2 separate regions of the Homo sapiens genome follow, and region 2 is linked to region 1. The links are contacts of gene promoters, found by promoter capture Hi-C in blood cells and fetal thymus (Javierre and others, 2016). All regions are on one chromosome and are shown on one strand. The core of a region is centred on a gene start or on the middle of the fragment in contact, and the rest is flanking DNA. Distances in the headings are between cores, read along the strand shown. Region 1 holds the start of MTRF1 (mitochondrial translation release factor 1). Region 2 has its middle 5.4 kb from the start of AKAP11.

The links. Contacts are between HindIII fragments. The CHiCAGO score rates a contact against its expected background, and 5 or more counts as called.
Region 2: a contact is called between a fragment that was not itself captured here and the fragment with the promoter of MTRF1 in region 1, in 1 of 17 cell types (fetal thymus). The highest score is 5.0, in fetal thymus.

Annotation. Positions count from the first base shown.
Region 1 is chr13:41,258,669-41,266,625 of GRCh38, forward strand. It overlaps MTRF1 (mitochondrial translation release factor 1), which reads right to left and starts at 4,908. Exons shown (of 10, transcript NM_004294.4): 1 at 4,817-4,908; 2 at 1,825-2,247. The coding sequence starts at 2,239. RefSeq lists an enhancer at 4,326-4,826 and a silencer at 5,114-5,203. The HindIII fragment of the contact is 4,724 bases long and covers 1,720-6,443 here.
Region 2 is chr13:42,262,791-42,270,747 of GRCh38, forward strand. No RefSeq gene overlaps it. Among named protein-coding and RNA genes, the nearest start is that of AKAP11, 5.4 kb to the right of the region's middle. The HindIII fragment of the contact is 5,483 bases long and covers 3,065-7,957 here.

The DNA.
Region 1 (7,957 bases), core at 3,658-6,157:
GTCAGTCTTGTAAGAAAACACAGATGTAAACCTTTGTGCCCTTAGATTAGGCAATTTTCTTAGATACGACTCCCAAAACTCAAGCAACAAGAGAAAAAAAGATAAATTGGACATCATCAAAATTTAAAAATATCATGCTTCAAAAGACAGTATCAAAAAAGTGAAGAGAAAACCACAGAATGGGAAATTTTTGCAAATCATATATCTGATCATGGACTTTTACCTAGAAGATAAAGACCACTCACAACTCAATAATGAAAAGACAATTAAATTTAAAAACTGGCAAAGGATCTGAACAGTGATTTCTCCCAAGATGATACACAAATGGCCAAATAAGCACCAGAAAAGATGCTCAACATCATTAATCTTCAGGAAAATGCAAATCAAAACCACAATAACACACCACTTCACATTCATAGGATGGCAATAATTGAAAGGGCGGATAATAAGTGTTGGCAAGTACGTGGAGAAATATGAACCCTCATACACTGTGTGTAGAGCTGTAAAATCGTTATAGTCACTTTGGAAAACAGTCTAGCACTTCCTCAAAAGGTTAAACATAGAGTTACCACATGAACCAGCAATCTATGTCCACAAAACAACTTGTACACAAAAGTTCACAGTATCGTTATTTATAATAACCAAAAAGTGGAAACAACTCAATGTTCATCAACTGATGAATGGATAAATAAAATGTGGTATATCCATACAATGGAATATAATTCAGTAATGAAAAGAAATAAAGTACTGGCTGGGCATGGTGGCTCATGCCTGTAATCCCAGCACATTGGGAGGCCAAGGTGGGTGGATCACTTGAGATCAGGAGTTTGAGACCAGCCTGGCCAACATGGTGAAACCCCGTCTCTACTGAAATACAAAAAAAATTAGCTGGGCATGGTGGCAGGGGCCTGTAGTCCCAGCTACTTGGGAGGCTGAGGCAGGAGAATGGCGTGAACCCGGGAGGCGGAGCTTGCAGTGAGCCGAGATCCCGCCACTGCACTCCAGCCTGGGCGACAGAGCGAGACTCCGTCTCAAAAAAAAAAAAAAAAAAAACATAAAAATAAAAAATAAAAGCTTCCTTCCTGGTTCCACTAATGCGCAGTCCCCTCCAGGAAGATTTACCCAATCAATCCAGGCTGGTTTGAGTGCCCTCTCCTCTTTGCTCCCATGAAACTGTGCCTCCCTCTAGTAGAGCAGGTCTCACATTATAAACAATACTTAAATAAGTTTCTCTCACTGGACCATAGAAGCCCACTGATGGGGTAGGAACTGTATGTGTAGCCCTAGTATGTAGGTACAGTGTTCAATAAAGGTCTGCTCAATAAAATAAAGCTTCTGAAAAGACCAACATTTTGTCTCCCAGACCTTGAGACCACGGGAAGTACCACGAGGAGCCTGTTTACTTAGTACATTGATCTTTAGTAGCTAAAGTGTGTCAAATACTCTGGGTACAGAGTCCTGTTCTTTCCAAGTGTTGAGCTTATTACTTGTAGGTTTTTTTAAAAGACTGAGTTCAGGCCAGCCTCAGTGGCTCGGTGGCTATAATCATATCGCTTTGGAAAGCCCTGGCACAATAGTCCTAGCTACTCAGGATGCTGAAGTGGGGGGCCAGGACTTACAGGTTACAGTGAGCTACGATTGAGTCACTGCACTCCTGCCTGGGCAACAAGTGAGAACCTGCTTCTGTGGGAAAAAAAAAACAAAGACTAAGTTCAATAAAGCTTTAACTTAGAAAATCAAATCTGTACTTACACACACGCATATAAGTGTGTGGTTTTTTTTTTCATAGCCCTTATGCAGGACACATAAGTATCTTTTACCTACTTTTACACATTGATTCTAATTCTTCAATTGCTTGTTCAGTCTCCTGAATTTCTTGGTAAATGGCTGCAAGAGGTGCCAACTCAGCATGCCTTCTGTTCAAGGACCTTCGGTTTTCCTCATTCACAGGGATATGCTGCAGACATTGCTCAAGTGTTTGGTACTCCTTACTCAGGTTCTCCATATATTTCTGTAGTGCTTTATGCTTCCAGAGCATCTTGGTGTCTTGATGGCAATATCTCCTGGACCAATTCTTACTTAACAGATGAAGAATGCAATTCCTGTTTTGTCTAAAAACTTGCAGCCTTGTATCAAGATGTATCTGTCTAAATTGATGAGAATGGAGCTGGATGTGACACTGGAGGTAACCATTAAGAGATGGATGTCTAAAAAGCCAAACACACAGGTGACGATTCATCTCAGCATCTGAAATACAATAAACACAGTCTTTAAAAAAAAATCATCTCTAAAGATACATGCATAATAAACCTGGAAGGAACATCAAGAAATCTTGTTTCATCTACTGCCTCAGCCAGCTCCACAGTCTTAAAATTCAACTGCCGGCTGGCAGCAGTGGCTCACGCCAGTAATCCCAGCACTTTGGGAGGCTGAGGCAGGCGGATCACCTGAGGGCAGGAGTTCGAGACCAGCCCAGCCAACATAGTGAAACACTGTCTCTACTAAAAATACAAAAATTATCCGGGCGTGGTGGCAGGCGCCTGTAATCCCAGCTACTCAGGAGTCTGAGGCAGGAGAATTGCCTGAACCCAGGAGGCAGAGGTTGCAGTGAGCCGAGATCATGCCATTGCACTCCAGCAAGGGGGACAATACCAAGACTTCGTCTCAAAAAAAAAAAAAATTCAGCTGCCTACAGAAAGAACATAATTCTTCAAATGTATGAATAACATATTAAAATAAATAAAAACAGCACTGCTTCCTACCTGTTCAACATATATAATTAACTGAAGCATATGAGTAGGAGTACAACTAACAAATATATCAATTGAATGAGTTAAGTCAGTTATTTTCTAGAAAGTATCTAGAATCTAGAATTGAGTGTGTAAACAAGCTCTTGAAAGCTATGAAAACATACAAACTTAAGGCGGTTCATAAAGTCATTTTCTAAAGTTTGAAGAAAATATTATTATCTTGTATAATTCTTTAACTTTAAGGATCTAGATATCCAAGGAAGTCAAGTAACTTAATCACGACTATTCAGTCGGCTGGATGGAGACAGAGCTGGTATTAGAATGTAAGTTGCCTGTTCAGGACTCAGTAATTTTCACTCTCAATTGTGCAATCACTTTTCAAAAATGCTTCCCGTTTAGCTGAGATCCTAAAGGAAGAAAAGTTCAAGTATTAATAGACCAAGAAAGTAGGGCTGGTGAAAAGCTCTACAGTTATATTAAATGGTGACAATTATATTAAGCAAGAAAGGCAAGGAACAAAATAGAATCTCAATTACATTTAAAAAATATTCTACAATATAAGGTATACATGTAAAAAAAAAAAAGCACATAGAGTATTTTTTAAAAAGAAAGTTAAATAAGAAACATACCAAAATGTGCCGAGCACAGTGGCTCACGCCTGTAATCCTACCACTTTGGGAGGCCGAGGCGGGCAGATCATCTGAGGTCAGGAGTTCGAGACCAGCCTGGCCAACATGGGAAAACCCCATCTCTACTAAAAATACCAAAAAAATTAGCTGAGCGTGATGGCACACACCTGTAGTCCTAGCTGCTCGGGAAGCTGAGGCAGGATAATCGCTTGAACCTGGGAGGCGAAGGTTGCAGTGAACTGAGATCGCACCACTGCAACCAGCGTGGGCGACAAAGCAACACGCTGTCTCAAAAAAAAAAAAAAAAAAAGAAACATACCAAAATGTTAATAAAATGATCTCTAGTTGTGAGATTATGAATACCTTTTGCTTGCTATTTTTTCTACTTTTCAGTGTTTTCCAAGTTTCTTGCACATGTAGCATGGAATACTTTCCTAATCATAAAAAAAGATTAGTTTAAAAAATTACAGGTTAGGTGAAATTGGCTGTGTACAATAATTTTCTGTTCTCCTCCCCTCCAACAGAGATAATCAAGAGCTAACAAAAGTACACAATGGTCTTACTGAGTAAGAAAGGGAGAATATAAAGTGTTCTAAGAAAACTCTAAGGTTCAAAGTTGAAATAAGGGTCAAGCCACGCACAGTAGCATGCACCTATTGTCCCAGCTACCCAGGAGACTGAGGCAGGAGGATCACTTGAGCCAAGGAGTTCAAGGCCAGCCTGGGCAACACAGTGAGACTCAACTCAAAAAAAGAAGGATCAACATTTATCAAAATCAAACTTTACTGTCTCCAGTGATCCTACTATGCTAGGAGGTGCATTGATATATTAGCTCATTTGTTCACTATAAGTCTGTTAACTTAGCATTATCACCTAGGAAATAAAATAGTCAGAATGGTCTTTAAAATATTCAGTTTCCAGAGTTCTACTGATAGATTTTAGGATACTGCATCACATTATTAAAAGAACTGTTGAAGAAAGCACCAATGGCCAGCTGTCACAAACGTTACACTCCACCACCCCCGTATTTCAAGCACGTTAGAGAAAGTGTATCCATTTGCTAACAGACAGAATAAAAGGATGACAAATATATGTTTGTACGAATACTTATTGCTAAAATTTCCATTTTAGGAACAGTAGTAGAATGCATAATTTTCAAGGTCATGAATCTCAACATTAAGGAAAACAAAACAAAACAAGATGTTTACTCTCCAAGGTTAACTACACCTGAGAACAGCACGACTTCTCCATTACCCATCACAGTAACAGTATTACTCTGATGCTTTGGGGAAAGTTCTGAGTGTAGGCAGGTCAGAAGCGACAGCCCGCGGGGCAGCAGCACGGGCAAACCATGCTGTGTAACTCAGTATATGGAGTGATTCCATAAAGAGGCAATACAGGAGGCGGCGGGGAAGATCAGGAAAGAACTGTGAGTACCTAAGAAAAAGAAGAATACACGTTAGCTCTCTTTACTGAGGTCGGAACCTTCCGAGACCCGCCACATTTCAGCCCGACAAACCCGAGATCACGTTCACTTCCTGGTTCACTTCTTCCGGGTTAACGCACGCTCCCGGCCCCTCCTCCGCCACTACCGCTCTCCGGAGGAGTTGTCCTCGAGCATGCCTAACAATGGACTAAAATGACAAAAATGAGCTAAATGAGAAAAATGACAAAACGAGAATGAAATTGTCATCAGACAACCGCCCCCGCGCCGTCCTTATCCAGAGCGTGAGCCCAGAGCGGGGATGGAGATGGTGGGAGGGAGGGAGGGAGGGAGGGGCCAAGGTGGGACTAAACTACAACTCCCAGAGCGCCCACCAAAGAATCCTGGGAGTTGTAGTTTACCTTGCGGCAGCCTCCAACCCCCTCCACTCACTATCCAGCCAAATGTGGAGTTTTTGGTTTTCACCGTTAACTGCAAACCTAGAAGAGAGATTCTTTACGATTCTGATTAAGAGATCAAGATTTAGAACACATTGCATGTGAAATTACAATAATTTCCTTATGTATTAGAAGCCCGTAAAGCACTGTTTTCCAATATTTAAAAAAAATAAAGACTCCTTTTACATCATCCACAAATGTAGAAGATTCTGCGTGTAATTTCTATACTTTCAGCTTCCATTGCTTCAGAAAATACCTAATGACTAAAGGATAATACAAATAAATTTATATTTTAAAAGTAGTAACAGCCCCAAAAGTTAGGAGACCGTGTATTTCCACATGTTAGTGATTTTATAATGTTCTTTGCACATGGGAATGTAGGGGCTCAACCTAGATTCATAGCTTATGAACCACTGATTAAGTGAAGAATGAAAACTCCAGTTAATAAACAATTGCAGGAAAATGCAAGCATATTGTCCTACTTTGACTAATCCAGTGGGATCCAGCCCTTGGCTATCGCAATTTACAGTCTTTCTATCTCCATGCCTCAATTTTTCTTCCTGAAAGAAAAGGCAAAAAATGTACCATATTACTGACTTTACAGAGTATTTTCTTAGATTATAATCACATACATAGATAGGAGAATTAGCTATATATGCAAAATAATATCTAACGTTTATAGCCAACTTCAAGGTACCTACTTCTATGTACTATGTACTAAATACTGTTCTAAATGGTTTTACCCTATTAATTCATTTAATTTTTACAACCTTAAAATACTTATTTTGCAGAGGAGAAAATTAAGGCACACAGAGCTAAAGTAACTACTCCAAGGTAAAAAACAGTAAGTGATAGAGCCAAGACTCAATTAAGGCAATGGCTTTAATGATCTGTGGCTCCTAAGCTCTGATATAGGGCCACCCTGCTCCAAAAAAGAAAAAACCTTCAATCATGTATTCAATAAATAGTGAACACCAGTTATGTGCTATTCACTATTCTAGTCATGAGGATTTAGCAATGAACAGAAAAGACAAAAACCTTTGCCCACATGGAGCTTATGTTCCAGTAGGGGAAAAGTTTCAAAGGGTCTACATAAAGTCATTCTCCTAAGTTATCCAAAAAGTTCTTTAATTATTTATTCTGATTTGTGCTTTCAGCTATATAACTTGAGTATTATATATAAAGCTTTATTCTCCTTAAAAAATTAGTCTTAGTCGGGCGTGGTGGTTCACGCCTGTAATCCTAGCACTTTGGGAGGCCGAGCCAGGTGGATCACCTGAGGTCAGGAGTTCGAAACCAGCCTGACCAACATGGAGAAACCCCATCTCTACTAAAAATACAAAATTAGCTGGGCGTGGTGGCTCATGCTTGTAATCCTAGCTACTCGGAGGCTGAGGCAGGAGAATCGCTTGAACCCAGGAGACAGAGGTGGCAGTGAGCCAAGATTGCACCATTGCACTCCAGCCTGGGCAACAAGAGTGAAACTCCGTCTCAAAAAAAAAAAAAAGTAGTCTTACTGCTATGGACTGAATTGTTTATATTCATAATCATGTGCATATTACTAATATTTATTTTTAAAATTCATATATTGAAGCCCTAACCCCTCCAATACATGTGTCTGTATTGGAGATAGGGCCTTTAAGGTGATTAAGGTCAGATGAGGTCGTAAGAGTAGAGCCCTGACATAATAGGATTAGTGCCTTTCTAAAAAGGCACCAGAGATCTTGCTCACTGTCCCTGCCCAAACAAAGAAGAGGTTACGTGAGTACACTGTGAGATGGTGGCCACCTACAAGCCAAGAGAAGAGGTATCAGACTGAAACCTACATTGCTGCCACCTTGATGTTAGACTTCCCAATCTCGCAAGAGGCTAAGAAACAAATTTCTGTTGTTTAGGCCACCCAGCTGGTGGTTTTTTGTTTTTTTGTTTTTTTGTTTTTTGAGGTGGAGTCTCGCTCTGTCACCAGGCTGGAGTGCAGTGGCCTGATCTTGGCTCACTGCAACTTCTGTCTCCCGGATTCAAGCAATTCTCCTGCCTCATCCTCCCAAGTAGCTGGGACTACAGGTGCACACCACCACGCCCAGCTAATTTTTGTATTTTTAGTAGAGATGGGGTTTCACCATGTTGGCCAGATGGTCTCAATCTCTTGACCTTGTGATCTGCCCACCTCAGCCTCCCAAAGTCCTGGGATTACAGGCATGAGCCACCACACCTGGCTTTTATTTTTTTTTAAATAGAGATGGGGGTCTCACTATGTTGACTAGGCTGGTCTCAAACTCCCAGCCTCCTAAAATCCTGGGATTACAGGTGTGAGCTACTGCACCTGGCCCAGTCTATGGTTTTTTGTTATGGCAGCCAAGTTATTCTGACTATGCAGAACAACTTAGACATTTAGAACTCGGGCTGGGCGTGGTGGCTCACGCCTGTAACCCCAGCACCTTGGGAGGCCAAGGCGGGTGGATCACTTGAGGCCAGGAGTTTGAGACCACCCTAGTCAACACGGTGAAACCCTATCTCTGCTAAAAATGCAAAAATTAGCCAAGCACAGTGGCACGCACCTGTAATCCCAGCTACTCAGGAGGCTGAGACATGAGACTCACTTGAACCTGGGAAGTAGAGGCTGCAGTGAGCTATGGTGCCACCTCACCCCAGCCTGGGTGACAGAGCAACATGCTATCTCAAAAACAAAAACAAAAC
Region 2 (7,957 bases), core at 4,556-7,055, 1.0 Mb after region 1:
TGCCATGTTCTGGCAGAAGGGGCTGGAATATAGATTCTGTATGGTGTCTAAGAATCAAGCATCATTTCTGTAGAGAGGGCTCTCTGTTTGTAGGATGGCATCATCCAGTCATATCTTAATGAGGGGATGCTGTAGCAGACAGCTGCACTGACCATGTAGCTAGAGACCAGGCAGAAATGTGGGTACTTCAGTGGAGGCTGATGTGGAAAGGTAGTAATGATCAAGAAACAGATAGCATAGTATACATTTCAGTGGACTTCAGTGGAGGACTTTATTCCTTCCTGGAACTTAGGTGAGAATTCTTAGAATTACATAAAGAGTAAAATGAGCAAGAAGTGTTCACAATAATTTTTTTAAAGTTACAAAAATATAGACTAATATTAAACTTCGAAGAGCATAGGGTTTGACACTGAAACCCAAGTAGCACCTTATAAATGTTGGCTTCTCTTTCACAGAAAAGAAATGCCGTTTCCTCAAACCATACATGAAAATTAGTATGATATTTTATCAGACCTTATTTTACTGCAGATATTACTTTCATCCGGAGTTTATATGCAATTTCAGAATAGCTACTGACCATCTAAAAAGGATAGAAAAAGTACAGGCCATTATACTATTAAGCTAGAGCTCTGTAGGAATCTTAATATACCCATTATAGTAAGCTTATAGGCATACTGTTTGAAGATAACAAAATCATTGTAAGATTATTACACCAACTGATAAGGATACTAACCTGCACAATCAAATGTGAGTAAGGACACACTTAAACAGGAAGAATGGTAAAATCAGTTTAGAGATAAAGAGCAGAATATGACAAATTATACATTTATAATATAAATTTATGAATTATAAATTTGGGCTCTACAAAGGGAATTTTCTAAATAAATTACAAAAGTGCCAAGAAATTTGACACCCATTGTTTATAAAGATAACCCATCTATTTGAAAAATAATGGTAATTATTATTTTTCCCCCTCACATTGAACAAAAATCTGTCCTCTTCCTCTGGAAGGACAGAGGAAGCCTCAGATAGTTCTCAGACATTAGCATTTCAACCTCAGTTTACTATATCCCTCTGAGTCTCCCCTTCTTCAGGTTAAATACCAACAAGATAAGTTTCACATATGAGATATTCCCTTAGGCTCCTCACCTCTGGTCATATTTCACTATGGCTAATGCAGGTGCATACTGACTAGTTAGAGTACAGTAGGACTAGCACCTCTTTTGTCTTGAGCATCACACTAGCATTCATGTAGCCTAAAGTTGCATTTGCCATGTTTTGGTAGCTGCATCCTTCCGATGAAGAAGATTGGACTAACCATAAAGGGTTGCAGGCCAGTAAACCAATAAATCAGAAATGGTTGGCTACTTTGATGTTCATGAAGATTGGCTATCAAGAAATCCTAGTCTATCTTTCAGAAGCTTAGCTGATTTCACATATTCCATTGTGGTGAAGGGGAACAAATGTGTTCAAGATGACTTTGGGCAATCCAAAATAAATTGGGATCAAATCTAGTAAGGGGACAGACTGGATATCTCTAACGTAGTTTAGTGGCTTAAAATTGCAAATAGAGCAAGGATTTCCTACAGCCTGGGCTAGGAGGCATTTGGGGGTCTTAAAAGTTCTACCACTTTTCAACCTAGATTTTTACCCCAGTGTTTAATGACTTTCTGTACCGTATGTAAGCATGTATTAATAATATTCATGTTTCATATGCATGACTATTACCTCCTTTAAAGATCTAATCACGTAAGGATATTTCTGTTAAATTTCATGTGAGCTAACTAATGAATAAGGATGCTCTGACTGACACTTTGAATTAATGTTTCATTTTTCAAGCAAAGCAGCTAAGCAACAGGAATGACAGACCCAGAAATAACTTGTTCTAAGATCTGTTTTATCTTGTCATAAAGTTAGGACAATATTCCAAAAGCTGACCTTGTCCTTTAGATATATAATCCAGGGGAAGTCATCTAACATCTTTTTTAAAGCAGTAAGCATGTATGCTATTGGCTCACATGAAGAGGAAGTCTATCTCACTTTTTGCAAAAGACATTTTTTAAAAGTTGTGTATAAATTTTATATGGTAAATTAAACTATTATTTACTTATGCTAAATGCTTTTGAAATGCTTGATAACATTCATGCTTCTTTGAACTTGTAATGTCTGTAACATAAGCTTTTTATAATACCTTGCACTTCTAATTTAACTATAAACCAGTCATGTAAAATCAGCAGAGCAATGATATTTAAATAAACTCTTTTATCTTATCAACTAGTTACATTTAGGCATAATTACTTGTTTTTGAACTTTGGACAAGTATATATTACATTTTCTTAAAAGAAGGTACATCTATGTTTTACATATTAGAAGTATTATAATTCAGTAATTAGCTATGATTTAAATCAGAAGAATCATTATATTTGAGTAAAATATATAGTAGGACTCAGATTGATTTTGCTGTTCAAGAAGTGTTTAATTTGGATTGGCACTTCTGAATTATCATTTGTACTATATTTACTAATTAGTATAGTTAGGATTCTATGATTTTAGCATTGAACAGTTAATGAGTGCCACCGTGTATTAAAATATCACTAGGTATAATTTTAACAGTGGTTAAGATGTGTCTCTATCCTTATAAAGACACTCGCTACAAAAGAATTAGGTAAGTGCTGTGAAATTAAATCATTTAAACTTAAAGCTGTTGGAACTTTACATTATTCTGTGCCTTGAGAGGAACATGGCTCTGCAGCCTGAGTCACACGGCATGCAGTTGCAACTTCTGCTCTTTTTTTTCTGTAAATAATTAGTAAGATCAAAAGGCACCAGATATAAGACCCTCTCAGATCACTACTCTTACTCACAGAGTAATAAAGTCATCTTCCTTGGAATGTAGCAATCTATAACCAATCAAATTGCTGTAATACACTGGTCTCCTGTGGAAAATGTGATAATCCTGCTAAAATTTCTCTCTCTGAGACTATGTAAGTGAAACCTTAACTTCTCCACTTTGGAATACTGACCCCATTCATCTGGAATTGTTGTTCCCAGGTTGTCATCCTCAAGCTTTATGCTCAAATAAACTCCATACTGAATCATATTTTCTGAATCTCATTAAGGTTGACAGTATGTACATTATAAAGTATATAGTAGACTGTGATATAATATATAGGCATTCAAACCGAAGGCATAAAAGAGGTATTTCACCTCTTGAACTTAAAAAGCACCTTTACATATTTAAACAGCTGATGAAACTGTAATTTCCACATTTTTCCCCTTTCAGAATGTTTTATTAATACATTGGTTTATTAAGTATTAACAAATTTGGCTGGATGCAGTGTCTCACGCCTATAATCCCAGCTCTTTGGGAGGCTTGAGCCCAGGAGTTCAAGACCAGCCTGGGCAACATAGCAAGACTCTGTATCTACAAAAAATTTTAAAAAATAGCCAGATGCAGTAGTGCGCACCTGTAGTCCTAGCTACACTGGAGGTAAGTGGGGAGGATCACTTGAGCCTAGGAGCTCAAGACTACACTGAGCTATGGTCACTGCACTACAGTTTGGGTGACAGAGACTCTGTCTCCAAACAAACACAAAATAATAATAAGTTAAATAATACATGTAAAGCAACCATCAAATAACTGGTCTGCTCCATTATTTTTTCTTGTATTTTCTAATGTTCTATATAACGTGTGTATTAATTCATAATCATAAAAAACAAAGTCCTAAAACTGAACAATGTAGAAAAGAAGGACTTGACATCTCACTTTTACAAGTGAGCCACCAGCTGGGACCATCACTCAGGCAGGAAATATCACTCAGGCAGGAATTCAGCAAGTGGGCCAAAGGGAGACTCAAGTTTTCAAACAGGAAGCGATATGGAATCTGCTCTTGGCTGTCAGAGGCTGCTACTGTAAAGCTCCAAAGCTCCTGGGGAAAGATGATGCCTGCCTTTGTAGTCAGAAGGTCACCAAGGGTATTAAGCTGAGAGGCTAGCTTTGTGTATTAGGCTTAGTTTTGTTGAAAGGTAGGACCAGACCGAACTAGCTAATTTTAGTCTGAACTATTCCATTTAGTGCCCCATGTGATCCAGAATAAATCATTCAACCTTGCTGGGTCATAATTCTTTCATGTGCCTATAACCCAAATGTCTTGTTTCTATTACAGTATGTCTAAAAATGAAAGAAATATTTCCATTAACTTAGAAAATTACAGTGGAGGAGACACCACCAATTTGATTGCTGGAAATTGGCCCACTAAAATGTCCCTAGGAGACACACAGGGGTTCCCAGGCACCCTCTTGGGTGCCCTTGGACACAGGCTGTGTTCCCTGACTTGCCACCCTGCTGCCCTGGCTCCTTTGTACACCACTGGTCTCTCCTCTCCCTACCCCGTTTCTGTGAGGAGTATGAGCAGGGGACACCTGTTTTCTCCCTGCTGCAACATCCCAAGCATGGGACATGCCTTGACATTCATTTCCCTTAACATAGCACAGATTTGGCTTATAGCATTTATCAGGACTTTACTGAGGACTCCTGACAATACAAATTAAAGAGAATAAAGAATAGTCTGGTAAGACACCCTCCTTCCCCGCTTCTCTTTTTTTGAATAGTTATTGAGTACCTACTATGTGCCTTAGGAACTCCTAAGCAAAAACAGAAACAGCCCTTGCTCATGGATCTCACAGTTCAGTGGAGGAGGGAGACAGACATTAACTAGGTAACCACACAAATAAAAATTGTTATAAGTTGATAAATGCGTTGAAGAAAAAGTAGGGAGTCCTAAGTAAAGGGGATTTACTTAGTCTGGGGAGTTAGGACGAAAGTTCCTGAGGAAGTGACAGTAGAGTTGAAAGGTGAAGGATTCTTGGGCATTCAGCTGTTAACAGGGATGGACAGAGAAAGAATATTGGATCCTGAAGAAACAGCCTGTGGAAGGTGATGAGGCAGGCAGGGTCTGGTCCTATTTTGAGGAACTGAAAAGGGGACAGTCTGAAAGGGAGAATGATATGAAAGCAAAGGAGAAAAGCAGATTATGAGGAAAACCATGAGAAGCCACTGAAGGATTGTAAGCAGGGGAATGGCATGGTCAGATGCAGTAGAAATGGCAGCCCTCTGGAGATAGAGTGCACATACTTCAACCAGCAGGCAAAAAAGACAAATCCTGGAAGCAAAGGAACGGTGCTAGGAGGAGAAATATGAACTCTGTAAATGGGATAAATAGAACGTCTTCTATTTTTTAGAGTATTAAAAAGAATCAGCAACATCCACACAAAATTTGTATAGGAATATTCAAAGCAGTATTATTCATAATAGCCAAAAAGTAGAAACAACTGAATTGTCTGTCAACTGATAAGTTGGCCAATAAAACTGTGCTATATACATAGAATGGAACTGTTATTCGGCAATAAAAAATAAATGAAGTACTGATACACGCTTCAACATGGATGATCCTTTAACACATGCTAAATGAACGAAGTGAGACCCAAGAGACCATGTATTGTATGACTCCATTTATATGAACTGTCCAGAATAGGCAAGTCTTTTTTATTTTTTATTTTATTTTTATTATACTTTAAGTTCTAAGGTACATGTGCACAACATGTTACAGAGGTATACATGTGCCATGTTGGTTTGCTGCACCCATCAACTTGTCATTTACATTAGGTATTTCTCCTAATGCTATCCCTCCCCCAGCCCCCCAACCCCCTACAGGCCCCGGTGTGCGATGTTCCCCGCCTTGTGTCCTGTGTCCATGTGTTCTCATTGTTCAACTCCCATCTATGAGTGAGAACATGCGGTGTTTGGTTTTCTGTCCTTGTGATAGTTTGCTTAGAATGATGGTTTCCACCTTCAGAATAGGCAAGTCTTTATAGACATAAAGTTGATTGGCTGCTACTGAGTATGTGAGTTTCTTTTAGGGAGGAACAAAACTTCTAAAATTAGATTTTGATGACAGTTGCACAACTGTAAATCTACCAGAAGCACTGAATTGTATGGTAAATGGATTACATCTCAGTAAAACTGTTAAAAAACACAGTTTTAAAAAGAATCCAGGAACTGGGGACACAGCAGAACTGGATCTCAATCCTAATTTTTTCTCACTTTGTATTAATGTACTGCAAATAATTGTAGCTAGCACAAGAGAGCACAATGACTGTCTTGCTAAGGTGAGTTGGGAGGATTTATTTCGGGCTCTGTTAATACATGTTCGATTGGGAGAGTTGGGCCCAGAGTTCATCTAAATTAGTAGTACCAAGCAGCTGTTTCAGTTAATCATTATGAGGGCTGTAAACACTCAAAAAATACTCAATTAACATTTTAAAAGAATGGTCCTACTTTGTTAAAATAGTACTTTTTCTCTTTTTGGCGTTTTTCCTTTTAAAAAGTAGCCCTATGTATCTTGAAATCTTGCTTTCGTTAAAATTAAGGTGTTAGCTTAACTTTAGGATATTGCCTCAGACCTTTTAAAAAATGTATTTGCTATCTAGTTCTTAAACTCTGATTAGGAACACATGAATCATTATTTAATACTACACAGGTTCAAAATAGCTTAAGAGAGATGGAATTCGAGGTTGAGCAGGTGGCGGTGTTTCCGTTTTCACACTCTGAGAAGGCCAAGGTTTCTTAGGGAAGCATTCCTGGTATCTGTATCAACCGTTTTCAGAGTTATTCAGCTGGTGTGTGTGTGTCTAATTTCATTTGGGTTGAGCCGCTGACTCTGTTAGGTTTTCATAAAAAATCATTTCATTTCCCTTTCCAGCTTCCGTCCTACTGGTATGTGCATGTTAAAGTGTAATTCAGGCTTAACTACTTTAGGTGTAGGCTAGTTACATTGCTTTGTTTTATGTATGAGGAAGCTGAGACTCAGTGGTGATAAGGAACCTTGATTTGGTTGTATCACTAATGACAGAGCTTCGAGTTGGAACTCATCTCCTGATTCGTTTCTTTTGGTGAAACATCCTCTTGATTTCTGAGCTTTCAACCTCTATCTTTTCAAATCTTACACTAAAGAATAAGTATCTGCGTAGAATTTCATTTTCTGTTCCCAGAATTGACTTTAAGAATAGACAGAAGAGGTGGTTGTCAGTGTAGCATAATGGAGGGAAAAAAATTAAAGATGGGCCCTTCCTTTTCAGCCATTTGTTTTCCCCCAGGTAACAAAAGAAAATCCTCCATTTTATTTTTCCTAGTAATTAGGAGAAATCCACATGTTTCAACAAAGGCAGAAACAGCATGAGGACTCTGACCTAATGGATTTTAGAAATGTTGAGATCATAGGAAATTAAATTAAATTTCATGACTGTCTCTCACCTGGCCTATAAATCTCCTAATCTCCCTTACTTCTGCTTTGGCCTCTTTAAGACCCATTCTTTTCAAAGACGAGACTTTTTTTTTTTAAAAAAAAGTAAACTCTGGGTGTCTCTCCCCTATTAAAAACTCTGTAATACCTTATATTGCGTTTAGAATAAACTTTCAATTCCTTTCTTGGCTAACAAAGCCTTACAGGATCTGGCCCATGCTAGTTTCTGACAGAGCAAGAGCATCACCATCTTGGACAAGCACCGCCATTTTAAGTTCCCCTTGATTAAAAACCGCCTAAATCCAGCCCCAGAAACATCAGCCTAATGGCTAATGTCAGCATGACCATAAACCACAAATAACACTTCTGACCAGAAACTTTCCAACCCTGAGATAAACCCCACTCTGATCAGAAATATGCCTCCCCTCCAACCAGAGACATTACACCCCTGACAATAAAACTCTCCTCCACCCAGAAACATTCCAAGTCTACAATATGCTCTCCCTCCCTAAACCACTAAATACCTTTAGTCTGTAAGAGAGAACACTCCTGACCGAAATCGGCCAGAAGCCCCTCTCAGGTTTATTCTCCAAAATAAACCTGTCTCTGTTAAGCTGCTTTTTGTGTTTCTTTCTTTAACTCTTACAGTTTCCATC